Regions from separate parts of the Homo sapiens genome. Here regions 2 and 3 are each linked to region 1. Evidence: promoter capture Hi-C in 16 types of primary human blood cells and fetal thymus (Javierre and others, 2016). All regions are on one chromosome and are shown on one strand. Each heading gives the region's core, a stretch centred on a gene start or on the middle of the fragment in contact. The rest is flanking DNA. Distances are from core to core; before and after follow the strand shown.

The links. The method cuts DNA at HindIII sites, captures the fragments that hold promoters and counts their contacts. A CHiCAGO score of 5 or more calls a contact.
Region 2: a fragment that was not itself captured here is called in contact with the fragment with the promoter of CACNG2 in region 1 in 2 of 17 cell types (M1 macrophages and M2 macrophages); the score reaches 5.8 in M1 macrophages.
Region 3: a fragment that was not itself captured here is called in contact with the fragment with the promoter of CACNG2 in region 1 in 1 of 17 cell types (M1 macrophages); the score reaches 5.6 in M1 macrophages.

What each region holds. Positions count from the first base shown.
Region 1 is chr22:36,702,226-36,706,100 of GRCh38, reverse strand. It overlaps CACNG2 (calcium voltage-gated channel auxiliary subunit gamma 2), which reads left to right and starts at 2,349. Exons shown (of 4, transcript NM_006078.5): 1 at 2,349-3,735. The coding sequence starts at 3,525. CACNG2-DT (CACNG2 divergent transcript) reads right to left here and starts at 2,225. Exons shown (of 4, transcript NR_134623.1): 1 at 2,109-2,225. The HindIII fragment of the contact is 12,752 bases long and covers 775-3,875 here.
Region 2 is chr22:36,567,654-36,571,386 of GRCh38, reverse strand. The region is part of intron 2 of CACNG2 (calcium voltage-gated channel auxiliary subunit gamma 2); the gene reads left to right. Among named protein-coding and RNA genes, the nearest start is that of EIF3D, 40 kb to the right of the region's middle. RefSeq lists an enhancer at 444-1,035. The HindIII fragment of the contact is 9,308 bases long and covers 1-3,733 here.
Region 3 is chr22:36,539,471-36,543,246 of GRCh38, reverse strand. No RefSeq gene overlaps it. Among named protein-coding and RNA genes, the nearest start is that of EIF3D, 12 kb to the right of the region's middle. The HindIII fragment of the contact is 753 bases long and covers 1,271-2,023 here.

The sequences.
Region 1 (3,875 bases), core at 1,100-3,599:
TGAGTGCATACTATGTGTCAGGCACTTCACGTCTACAATTTAATCCTTACTGTGATCACTCCAGCCATTGTTCATCAAGTATCTACTATATATAAAGCTATACTCCAGGTCCCAAAGATATAACAGTGAACAAGACACAGCTGTTGACCTCAAAGAGGTTTCAAATAAGTGAAAGAGACAACACATACACAATTATGAGCTATACGTGCGATGGTGGAGGTCTGAATAGGATAGGTGGCTTGGCAGTAGCTGGGAAGAACTTCAGAAAGGAACAGGTAGGTGCTAAACTGCCCATTTAACATATGGTAAGACTGAGGCTCTAGGAACTTAACTTGTTTGGAGCTATGCCATTACTGAGTAGCAGAGTCAAGCTGTGCCCCAGGCCCATTCTGTCTCCAGTAGTCTCTGCACTGTCCATGCTGGCAGCCTAAAAGCTGTTGCTTTCCTCCCCCACCCCTTTCCCTTTTCTCAATGATCATCTGGCCAGAAGATTAATCAAATGCTGCTAAAGCTGCAGCCGTTGTCAGTGGCTAAGATGTTAGCAGATTCTGTGGACAAACAGAAGCTTCTGAGCCTCTGTTACTGATTTCTTTTGAGCAAAACCTTCAGGGGTTGGTCTGAAAGGGGGAGAGAGATGAGAAGAATGGCTCTATCTGCAGTCTAAAGGGATTTTTGGACAGGTCAAAGACAACCAAGGTGACAGCAATAAGTGAGGGCAAGGCTCTTTGGCTCATGTGACTACCCCCAACCTTCTCTCCACTCCCCCCAAAAGCTTAGCCTATCTCAGAGGAGGACTTGTTGCCTGCCCCTCACCTTTGCTTCAAGGACAGAAGAAAATCAGCCACCTGAGCCACTGGCTGAACTTGCTAGGTTCCCTGCTGTATGGGATCAGCAGATTAGCCCTCTCCATTCCTGTACCCATCCCCATCTTCACAGGACAAGAAACCAAAGTGGAGAAGTCTTCAGCCTGCAAATATAGCTCTTGCTGTACCCCAAAGGTACCTTAGCAGAGGTTGAGGAAATCTTGGTTCTGTTCTCCAGACACCAGGACCCTCTCCCAGATACCAGAAGCACAGCAATTGCCCCTCATGGGAGCCTTTCCCTTCTAAGAAAAGAACAGAGTGGGAGAAAGGAAGTTTTGTGCTGGGCGAAGAAACAGGTAGTTTTTCTATGTCAAAAAAAATACACTGGTCATACCTGCAGACCAACTCTGACCTGAGCGAAGGAAGTTAGGCAATGGACTTTACACCAAAGAAAGACTGTTTTTAATTCACTCATCTTTTATATACCTCTGATAATCACCAGACCACTGAGAAAGATGTCAAGCAAATAATCTCAAGAAAAAAAGTAGAGGGAGAGAGAAGAAAGTACTGAATAATTGAATTATGGGATTGAAACCTCTCAACTCCCCCTGCCTCAATAGACTCATCATACTCACATCCTCTCCAGGGTCCCCCCCGCAACACACACACACACAAAATATCAAAAACATGAACCCATCTCATGCCTCATGTGCTCTTACTCACTTAACCATAAAAGTGATCAGAGAAAAAAATGTAATCCGTAGCAGCAGGAATTAATGTGCTTCTTTCTACCAGAGGTCACGTTAAGGAAAAGTTGCACATAAGAGAAATGAAAGGTGACACTGTAATTAACCCACAAACAATGATTCTTCTGAGAAAGAGGGGAGGGTTTCGGTGTTCCAGTGTTCATGGAAGGAAGATTTTTTATCTCTTCCCAACCAGTTTATGAATGACATAGGATACTTAGAAGGATTCACATTTCACCCACTTCCCCTGAGAACATGTTTATCCTTGCAATGAAAATCATTGCCCAAGCCCCAGCTACGAGTCGCCCTTTTGCACCCTTTTCCACGAATAATCTTCCCAAAATGTCTGCTTGTAGAAGCAAGATTTGGAATTTCACGGAAAACTACAGAGAGACACAGAGCAATGCACACCCCCTGGTAAGCCAGAGAGAGACAAAGAGAAGAGAGAGGAAAACCGAAAGAAGATACATCTAACGGACCAACAAAATAAAACAAATCCCCAGCAAAGCAAAGTGAAAACAATGATTTAAAAAACACATAAAGACGTGTTTGTAATTACCCGTCCAGGTTACATGTTCGCCGCTTCCAGGCAGAGAAACGGCTGGTTGAAGTTTTGTGCCCGTCTGACTGTGATGGGAGGGTTGTATTTGAAGCTCTGGGCACGTAGAGATGGAATGAGAAGGAGGCTGAGCTGGAAGAAACACCAAGGGGGGAGGGAAGGGGGGAGAGAGAGAGAGAGAGAGAGAGAGAAAGAGAGAGAGAGAGAGAGAGAGAGAGAGAGAGAGAGAGAGCGCGAGCTATCTCTAGCTACGCCTTCCTCTAAGCTCCGGGAGCCCAGGAGAGCGCTCATTTTAGGATTTGGGAGAGGGGTAAAAAGAGGAAAGGCGGCCCCCGCTCTGCGCTGGCCTTGCTGCCCCGGGGAGGGAGGACTCTGGCCAGCGCCCCCCTCCTGGCGGGCGGCCCTGGGAGCCAGCCGGGGAGCGCGCGGAGCGGGCGGCGCAGGGAGCTGTCCGGTTCAGCACCACCCGTAATGCAGTAGGTGGGAGCGCCTCCGCGGGCGCCCAGCCGGTAGCGAGTGGGGGGCAGGCGCGCGGCCCACCCTGCAGCAAGACGCCGGCTCCCTCGTTTCCAGGAGCTTTGCAGATAGGGGGAGGGAAATCCGCCTCGATTCTCCAGGAGAAACCCCCTCTCTCCCCCACTTCGCCAACACTACCCCCGCCACCAACAACAATAACCGCCGCCGCTGCTCGTCCTGCTGCCGCCGCCGCCGCCGCGCCTGCCCGCCCTGCCGCCGCCGCCGCCGCCGCCGCCGCTGCCCGGGCAAAACCATGGAAAGCGAGACCCCCGCACCTGTGCAGCTGAGCTCAAGGGCTTACAGAATACTGGGAAGTCTGGTCTGAAACGAAAGCGCCGAGACCCCCCAAGGAAGAGAACTGGCGAAGCAAAGGATTTTCATGGCGCAGGCCGCAGAGCCGAGAACGAAGACCGAAGGTTGCATCTCGGCTCTCACAGTCTCTAACTGTCTAGGTCCCGACCATGAGAAATGGTGTTGAGAATTCGGCTGTTCCCTGGTTCACTGTGGAAGCCATCTCCAAATTAACTATCACATATGGAAACTGGAGACCAGAATTTTAGAAAAAGAGATTAAGGCATCTCACTTGGGGGGGTGGGGGGTGTCTTTTTATTTTTTTTTTCCTTTTCTTTTTAAAAAAAAAACACTGCAACTGGAACAGTTTCTGATCTCAAAAGGCAAGCCTCTTCCCGTGTGATCTTTATAATTTACACTCTTTTCCGTGAGCTTTCTTACCTCCCTTTTTTTATAACTCTCCATATTCTCTATTCATACATATATCCATTATATTAGTAGTGGAATAATTTTTATTTTTATTTATTTTTTTTGGCTTTAGTACTTGCACCCTCACACACACTCTCCCGAGAACCAGAAGTCGGTTGGGTGTTTATATAATGAAGAATTATGGGGCTGTTTGATCGAGGTGTTCAAATGCTTTTAACCACCGTTGGTGCTTTCGCTGCCTTCAGCCTGATGACCATAGCTGTGGGAACCGACTATTGGCTCTACTCCAGAGGGGTTTGCAAGACCAAAAGTGTCAGTGAGAATGAAACCAGCAAAAAGAACGAGGAAGTTATGACCCATTCCGGATTATGGAGAACCTGCTGCCTAGAAGGTACTTGACTTCCCATCTCCTCCCCCCTCTCCACCCCACCCCTCCCCTTTCACTCCCCCCTCCCCACCCTCCTCCAAATAAGTCCCCTTTACATTCCACCATTTTCTTAGTTCACTCCTTCCACCACCAATCAAGGTTGG
Region 2 (3,733 bases), core at 436-2,935, 130 kb after region 1:
CTCCCGGGTTCAAGCGGTTCTCCTGCCTCAGCCTCCCAAGTAGCTGAGATTACAGGCACTTACCGTCACGCCCGGCTAATTTTTGTATTTTTAGTAGAAGCAAGGTTTCGCCATGCTGGCCAGGTTGGTCTCGAACTCCTGACTTCATGTGATCCGCTCACCTCAGCATCCCAAAGTGCTGGGATTACAGGCATGAGCCACCATGCCTGGCAGGGCTGCCTTTCTAATCAGATGCCAATGCCGCTGGGCCTCAGGCCACACTTGCAGCAGCAAGGCCTTACAACATTCCTATAAGCTAAATATTATTTTTACTATTCCCATTTCACAGGATGGGGAAACTGAGGCTCAGAGCAGTAATGACCCTTGCCCAAGGGTCACACTGTTGATAACTGACAAAGCGAGGATTCAAAGTCAAGTGTGACTAACTCCAAAATCCCCATTCCGTTTGTGACACTACCCAGCCAGAAATACCTCCTTCAAGAAACGTCTCCAATGTAGAAGTCCCTGCTTGCTCCTAAACCAGCTTCCTTCCCACCTGGATCTGGGCCCTGCCAAGTCTAGTGGCCTAAGCATGGTGCTATTTGCTGGTTGCCCACTGTTGCCTTTTTTTTTTTTTTTTTTTTTGAGATGGAGTCTTGCTCTGTTGCCCAGGCTGGGGTGCAGTGGCGCGATCTCAGCTCACTGCAACCTCCGCCTCCCAAGTTGAAGCTATCTTCCTGCCTCAGCACCCCCAGTAGCTGAGACTACTGACACGCACCACCATGCCCGGCTAATTTTTGTGTTTTTTTCAGTAGAGACGGGGTTTCACCATGTTAGCCAGGCTGGTCTCGAACTCCTGACCTCAGGTGATCCACCCACCTCTGCCTCCCAAAGTGCTGGGATTACAGGCGTGAGCCACCGCGCCCGGCCTGTTGCCTTCTTTCTGGGCAAAGAGGCCTCTTCCACGAAAGGCCAGAGCTTGGGGCTGGCTCTTCTGTGCCGAAGAGGCTTCTGTTTGTATTCCCCGCTGGTGGTCATTATTTAGAGCATGTCATACGCTGCCTTGGTGGCTTCTGAAGCCGTTCTGATTCCTCCACATTGCTCTTTGCTGGCTGCAACACAGCAGACCCCTCCCTGCTCTCCCGCCGCCCTCCATCTTGTCCACACATGCCTGGCCTCTGGCTGCCCACACGCATGCATCCCAGCTCCCTCCGCAGCCGACGCTCCCTCCCCCTGCTGGCAGGAGGGCTGAGCTGGGGCATCCGGGTTCCCACAGCAGATGGGGCTCAACTGGAAAAATCAAGCCCTGGGCTGCTGTGAGTCCATTTGCTGTGAGGGCACAATTGGGTCGGCGACCTGCAGGCATCCTGTGGGTAGTAAGACCCCACTTTCTTGGAGGGGGAAGGCCAGAGCCTTTCTTCTGCCTGTTCCTCTGAGCTGCTGCTGCTGCGCCTCGGAAGCCACACCGACCTCTTTCTTTCTTTCCTTCTCTCTTCTGTCATTCCCCTTTGTGGCTGGCCAGGACCATGTCCACATGGAAAGGGCAGAGCTATTAGAAACTATCTAACGGCCGGGCGCGGTGGCTCAGGCCTGTAATCCCAGCACTTTGGAAGGCCGAGGCCGGTGGATCACCTGAGGTCATGAGTTTGAGACCAGCCTGGCCAACATGGCGAAAACCCATCTCTACTAAAAATACAAAAATTAGCCGGACATGGTGGCGGGCGCCTATAATCCCAGCTACTTGGGAGGCTGAGGCAGGAGAATTGCTTGAACCCCGAAGACGGAGGTTGCAGTGAGTCAAGATCACGCCACTGCACTCCAGCCTGGGGTATAGAGCAAGACTCTGTATCTAAAACAAACAAACAAAAAGAAACCATCTAACAGGCCATACCCCATGTTACACAGGGGAAAAACAGAGGAAGTGAGCACCCGCCTTAGCCACACAGCAAGTGAGTGGCACAGGTGGGACCCAAACCCAGTTCTCCAGGCCCTGTGGCACTCACCCTTCCTGGGCTCCTTGGAAGCCACATAGGGAGACTACAGGGTGCTCCAAAAGTTGAGCTGGTCTGGATATGAATCCTGGTTCACTAGCTGGGTGGCAGGGGAGTTTCTCTCTCTGAACCTCAATTTTCTTGTCTGTAAATTGGGGCAAAAAAACACACCCTGCCGGACTGTTATGAGGATGAAATTATATCATATATGTTAGGTACCTGCTCAAGACCCAACACCGAATGGGTGTTTAACAAATATTCTCTCTCTTCTCCTGGGTTTTCAGTAAGCTCTCACCATCCTCATGTGCTTATAAAGATGAGAGTTAAGGTGGCTTTTTAGTCATGCATGTCTGTCACGCGTGGGTGTGGATGTGGGTGTGTTTGGGCTGGGGGATCAGGTTAGGGATACAGCGTGTTGTCTTAGCAATGATTTGCAAGGAGAGAACACCTCCCTGGGGTCTGTGGAGGAGCAGCCCCATCCCGCCCAAGAGAAGGAGGGTGCTGAGGCTGCAGAGTAGCCCAGCCACCCCAAGCCCCCATCCTCCCACCCCTGCTTCCCTATATGCAGCTCAGTTTTGCCCCAAGAGCCCTGCCCTTCTTCAGGTCCCCCCCAAATAACCCACTCACCCATTTGTGAGCAGTGTAGACTATGCTGCAGATCCATGGTGAGGACAGAAGAAGAGTTTTCACATCACACACATCTCAGCAAACTGCCTAAAATCCCCTTTTAACGCCTGTAATCCCAGCACTTTGGGAGGCCGAGGCGGGCAGATCACTTGAGGTCAGGAGTTCAAGACCAGCCTGGCCAACATAGCGAAACCCCGTCTCTACTAAAAATACAAAAACTAGCCAGGTGTGATGGCGCACACCTGTAGTCCCACCTACTTGGGAGGCTGAGGCAGGAGAATCGCTTGAACCTGGGAGGTGGAGGCTGCAGTGAGCCGAGATCACACCACTACACTCCAGCCTGGGCAACAGAGCAAGACTCCATCTCAAAAAATAAAAATAAAAATAAATTTTAAAAAAGAAAAAGAAAAATCCCTACAGTTCTATATAGAGAAATTCTCTTCTCACAGATCCTTCTTGAACACACTCCCACCCAAAAGGGTGGGGACGGGGATGGGGATAAGAGGAAGCTCCGCTCCTGGCACATTCCCCTCCAAAACCAACCTCCCTGACCAATCCCTGGGCTTGGCCAAAGGGTCCTGTAATTATCAGGACTCAACTTCCTTAGAAACCACTTAAGCACCATTTAAAGAAGACATCTTTGGCCAGGCACGGTGGCTCAAGCCTGTAATCCCAGCACTTTGGGAGGCCAAGGTGGGCAGATCATGAGGTCAAGAGTTTGAGACCAGCCTGGCCAACATAGTGAAACCCCATCTCTACTAAAAGTACAAAAATTAGCCAAGCATGGTGGTACACGCCTGTAGTCCCAGCTACTTGGGAGGCTGAGGCAGGAGAATCACTTGAACCCAGGAGGCAGAAGTTGCAGTGAGCCGAGATTGCACCACTGCACTCCAGCCTGGGTGACAGGGGAAGACTCCGTCTCAAAAAATAATAATAATAAAGAAGACATATTTTCCCTCACCCCTGCCTCAAGCCAGCTCTGCCTCCTGCCTAGCCCATGGCTCCCAGGACACGGAGCTGGGTCCTGAGGTCACTCACTGCCTATTTGAATTTGGATTAAAAAAAAAATGTTTTACTTCGCAAAGACACTTTGTGAAGGGCTCCCCAACACCTCTGGGTCCTCATTCAGGTGCTGC
Region 3 (3,776 bases), core at 398-2,897, 160 kb after region 1:
ACTGCCTTAAGCATGTCACATATAAAATCTGACCTAATTCTATTCTCCCTCCCTCCCGAAGTGGTACATGCTATGATTCCATCTATTTTACAGATGAAGAAGCTATGGCTCAAATGGTCACACAACTTGCCCAAGGTCACACAACAGTGGTAAAAATTTAAATCGCTGGAATTCAAATTCAGTCAGTCTGACTCCCCAGATGTCTGCTTGCATTACAGTGATGTCAGACTGCTCCATGAGACCACCTTAAATATCACCTTGCGGTCACTCAGCCCCAGCCACAAGGCTCTCCAGGCACCCGCCGGGGCAGTGGGAACCAAGGCATGTGGTATGAAGAGATGAGAGACCGGATGCGGTGGCTCATGCCTGTCATCTCAGCATTTTGGGAGGCTGAGGAGGGCGGATCACCTGAGGTCAGGAGTTCGAGACCAGCCTGGCCAACATGGTGAAACTCTGTCTCTACTAAAAAACACAAAAATCCGCTGGGCCTGGTGGCAGGCACCTGCAATCCCAGCTACTCGGGAGGCTGAGGTGGGGAGAATTGCTTGAACCCAGGAGATGGAGGTTGCGGTGAGCTGAAATCGCACCACTGCACTCCAGCCTAGGCAACAGAGAGAGACTCCATCTCAAAAAAAAAAAAAAAAAAAAAAAACAGAGATGAGAACAACACTGTGCTGCAGAAAGTGGGGGCCTGAGGTTCAGAGAGGGGCACCTACTAGCCCACAGCTGTGCGGCCAGATCGAGCCAAAATCAGTATTTATCTTTGGCCCTAAGACCCCAAATCCCAGCTTCCAACAGAAGAAAACATATGGGGCAGAGAGAAGGAGCCAAGGAGAGGCCTGGTTATTGCTCATCCCATTGAAACAGTCAAACACTCTCTAAACTAGCTAAATGGTTCTGAAGGAAATGGGAATCTATTTTGTCTCCTGTCGCCAGGCCTGCAAATCCTGATATATCTCAGGCCACGGCAGCGAAGCGGATGGCTCAGCACTTGGAGACATGCCCACACGAGGCAGGAAGTAGGGTGGATGATTCAACAGGTACCTCTCTATTCTGAGAACTGGTCCTGTGATGGGTGAGTGTACATGCAGCTGAAATAAAAAATGATTTAGAATGTCGACCACTGGAACGCACAGCAAAGCCTCCCTTTCTTCCTGGGGGACTTGTGGCATTCTTTGGGGCTTTAATCTTTCCAGGTTTTCTAGTTCTGAAATTTTGCTGAGACAACAAGGTTCTTGGGAGGCTGGGGTGGGCTGGTGGCTCCAAAGCTTCCTTTCCTGCTGGCACAGCCTCCAACAGGATGATAAAATGGCTGCCGTCCTACCTGGGACACCATGTTCCTTGCCCTCAGTCTTCCTCATCTGCAGAATGGGGGTAGTGATCTCTGCCTAACCGAGACAGAAAAGTTTGGTACAGGTAGCACAGCTCCACAATTTCTTATCTGAAATCCTCGCGGCTCAATGTGCTTTATCAATTTATGTATTTTATTTTATATTTTATTTATTTTGAGACACAGTTTCACTCTGTCGGCCAGGCTGGAGTGCAGTGGCCCGATTTTGGCTCACTGTAACCTCCACCTCCTGGGTTCAAGCGATTCTCATGCCTCAGCCTCCCCCAGTAGCTGGGATTACAGGGACCCACCACCACGCCTGGCTAATTTTTGTATTTTAGTAGAGATGAGGTTTCACCCAGGCTGGTCTCAAACTACTGACTTCTGGTGAGCTGCCCGCCTTGGGCTCCCAAAGTGCTGGGATTACAGGTCTGAAGCCACCACATCCGGCCTCAATGTGCTTTATAACTTGGAATTCTTTGGATTCCTGAAAGGTTTTCGAGTGGATCTACCGCATATCAGGTGACATGCCAGTGAGCTCTGGAGCAATATTCCATAAACCCTTTAATTTTTCTGCAGCAAAATGTATAAATATTCACGCTAAGTGGGACAAAATAAAGACTATAAATAACCTCACATCCAATTCATATCAGGTTTGCCATCAAATGCTTGCCCCAATCTCATGAAAAAGCTTTAGATTTTCAGAGCTTTGTGGGTTTTGGAATTGTGCATGGAGAGTGCCAGCTTTGGTTTCAGCCACACCTGGGTTTCCATTCCAAATGCACCCTGACCAGCTGGCTCACCTGGGGCAAGACATTCCTCCTCTCTGAGCCTCAGTGTTCTCGTCTATAAAATGGGGTGATGATTCCTATGGTGCTTCTTAAAAGATAAGCAAGGAAACGCAAGTTGCCACTCTGGAAGAGAGGTTGGCCACACTGACCGGTCCCAATGAGGTGAATCCACCACAGGATATCCGGGATCTTTCTGCACACAAGGCGGTGGCAGACTCCCTTTGACCAAACTTACAAGGCTGACGCATAGCAGAAGATCCATTTATTATTGGAGAGCACAGTAAATACCCCACCAGCAGAATGGAGCACTTCCATCAGCCTAACCAGCACGTGCTTCCCTACAGCACAAGTTCCATGAGGATCCACGGTGTCACAGCACTGCTTGGTGGCAGGGAGTCAGAATAAACAACAGCATTAAGAAGCATTTATCGGCCAGGCACGGTGGCTCACGCCTGTAATCCCAGCACTTTGGGAGGCCGAGGCGGGCGGATCATGAGGTCAGGAATTCGAGACCAGCCTGACCAACGTGGTGAAACCCCATCTCTACTAAAAATACAAAAATTAGCCAGGCATGGTGGCAGGCACCTGTAATCCCAGCTACTAGGGAGGCTGAGGCATAAGAATCACTTGAACCTGGGAGGCAGAGGTTGCAGTGAGCCAAGATTGCACCACTGCACTCCAGCCTGGGTGACACAGCCAGACTCCATCTCAAAAAAAAAAAAAAAAAAAAGTGTTTATCACAGAGCAGCTTGAAGCCACCTCTGTTTTGGGAGGACAGTCTTACCCGGGGAATGGGGATGATGCTTGAGCCAGCGCAACCAAGAACCTGTGCCCTGGACAATGCCAGCCCTGGCTCTGTGACCATCCCCTTCCTAAATGTCCCCTACTGAGGGACACTTCCATTCACTCTTTCTCCAAAGTTGCAAGGTAACTGACCAGGTTCCCCTTGGTAAACTAGGATCGTATTCCAGGCCTCCCCCTCTGAGCCAGACTCCTTCAGAAACTTTGCCTGGCATTGATGTACCCCACACTCTTCAGTCATGTTTGCAGATAACCAAACTGATGACTCTTAGAAAAGGCCAGTCTGCATCCATGGCAGAGTTCATACCCCTAAGATGGCCACGACAATACCTCCCACTCCACATACTTGTTCCATAACTTTGTGCCTTACCCAGCAAGAAATTCAGTCTCTGTCCTCCCTCGCCCTTGACTCTAGGCAGGCTTGTGACTCACTTGGAACCAACAAGTTACGGGGATGGGAGAGATGCTGTATAACTTCGGAGGCTAGATCACAGAAGGCAGCATGGCTTCCAGCTTGTTCGCCAGAATACTTGCTCTGAACTCCCCACATGGACTCACTACAGAATGACCCTGAGGCTAAATGGAGAGAGAGAAAAACAGAAGCTCCACCCACACCAAACTATAATGCATGAGAGACCCCAGGTCAGAACCACCCAGCCAAGCCCTCTCCCAATTCCTGACCCACAGAAACTAAGAGATATAATAAAAAGACTGTTGTTGTTTTAAACCACTAAATTTTGGTGTGATTGGTTACACAGCAACAGATAATCAGTAACAGAGGACCATTTTACTTCCCTTCTGCCTAGGGTGACCATACCTCCCAGTTTAAGTGAGACAATCCCAGGGCATAATTA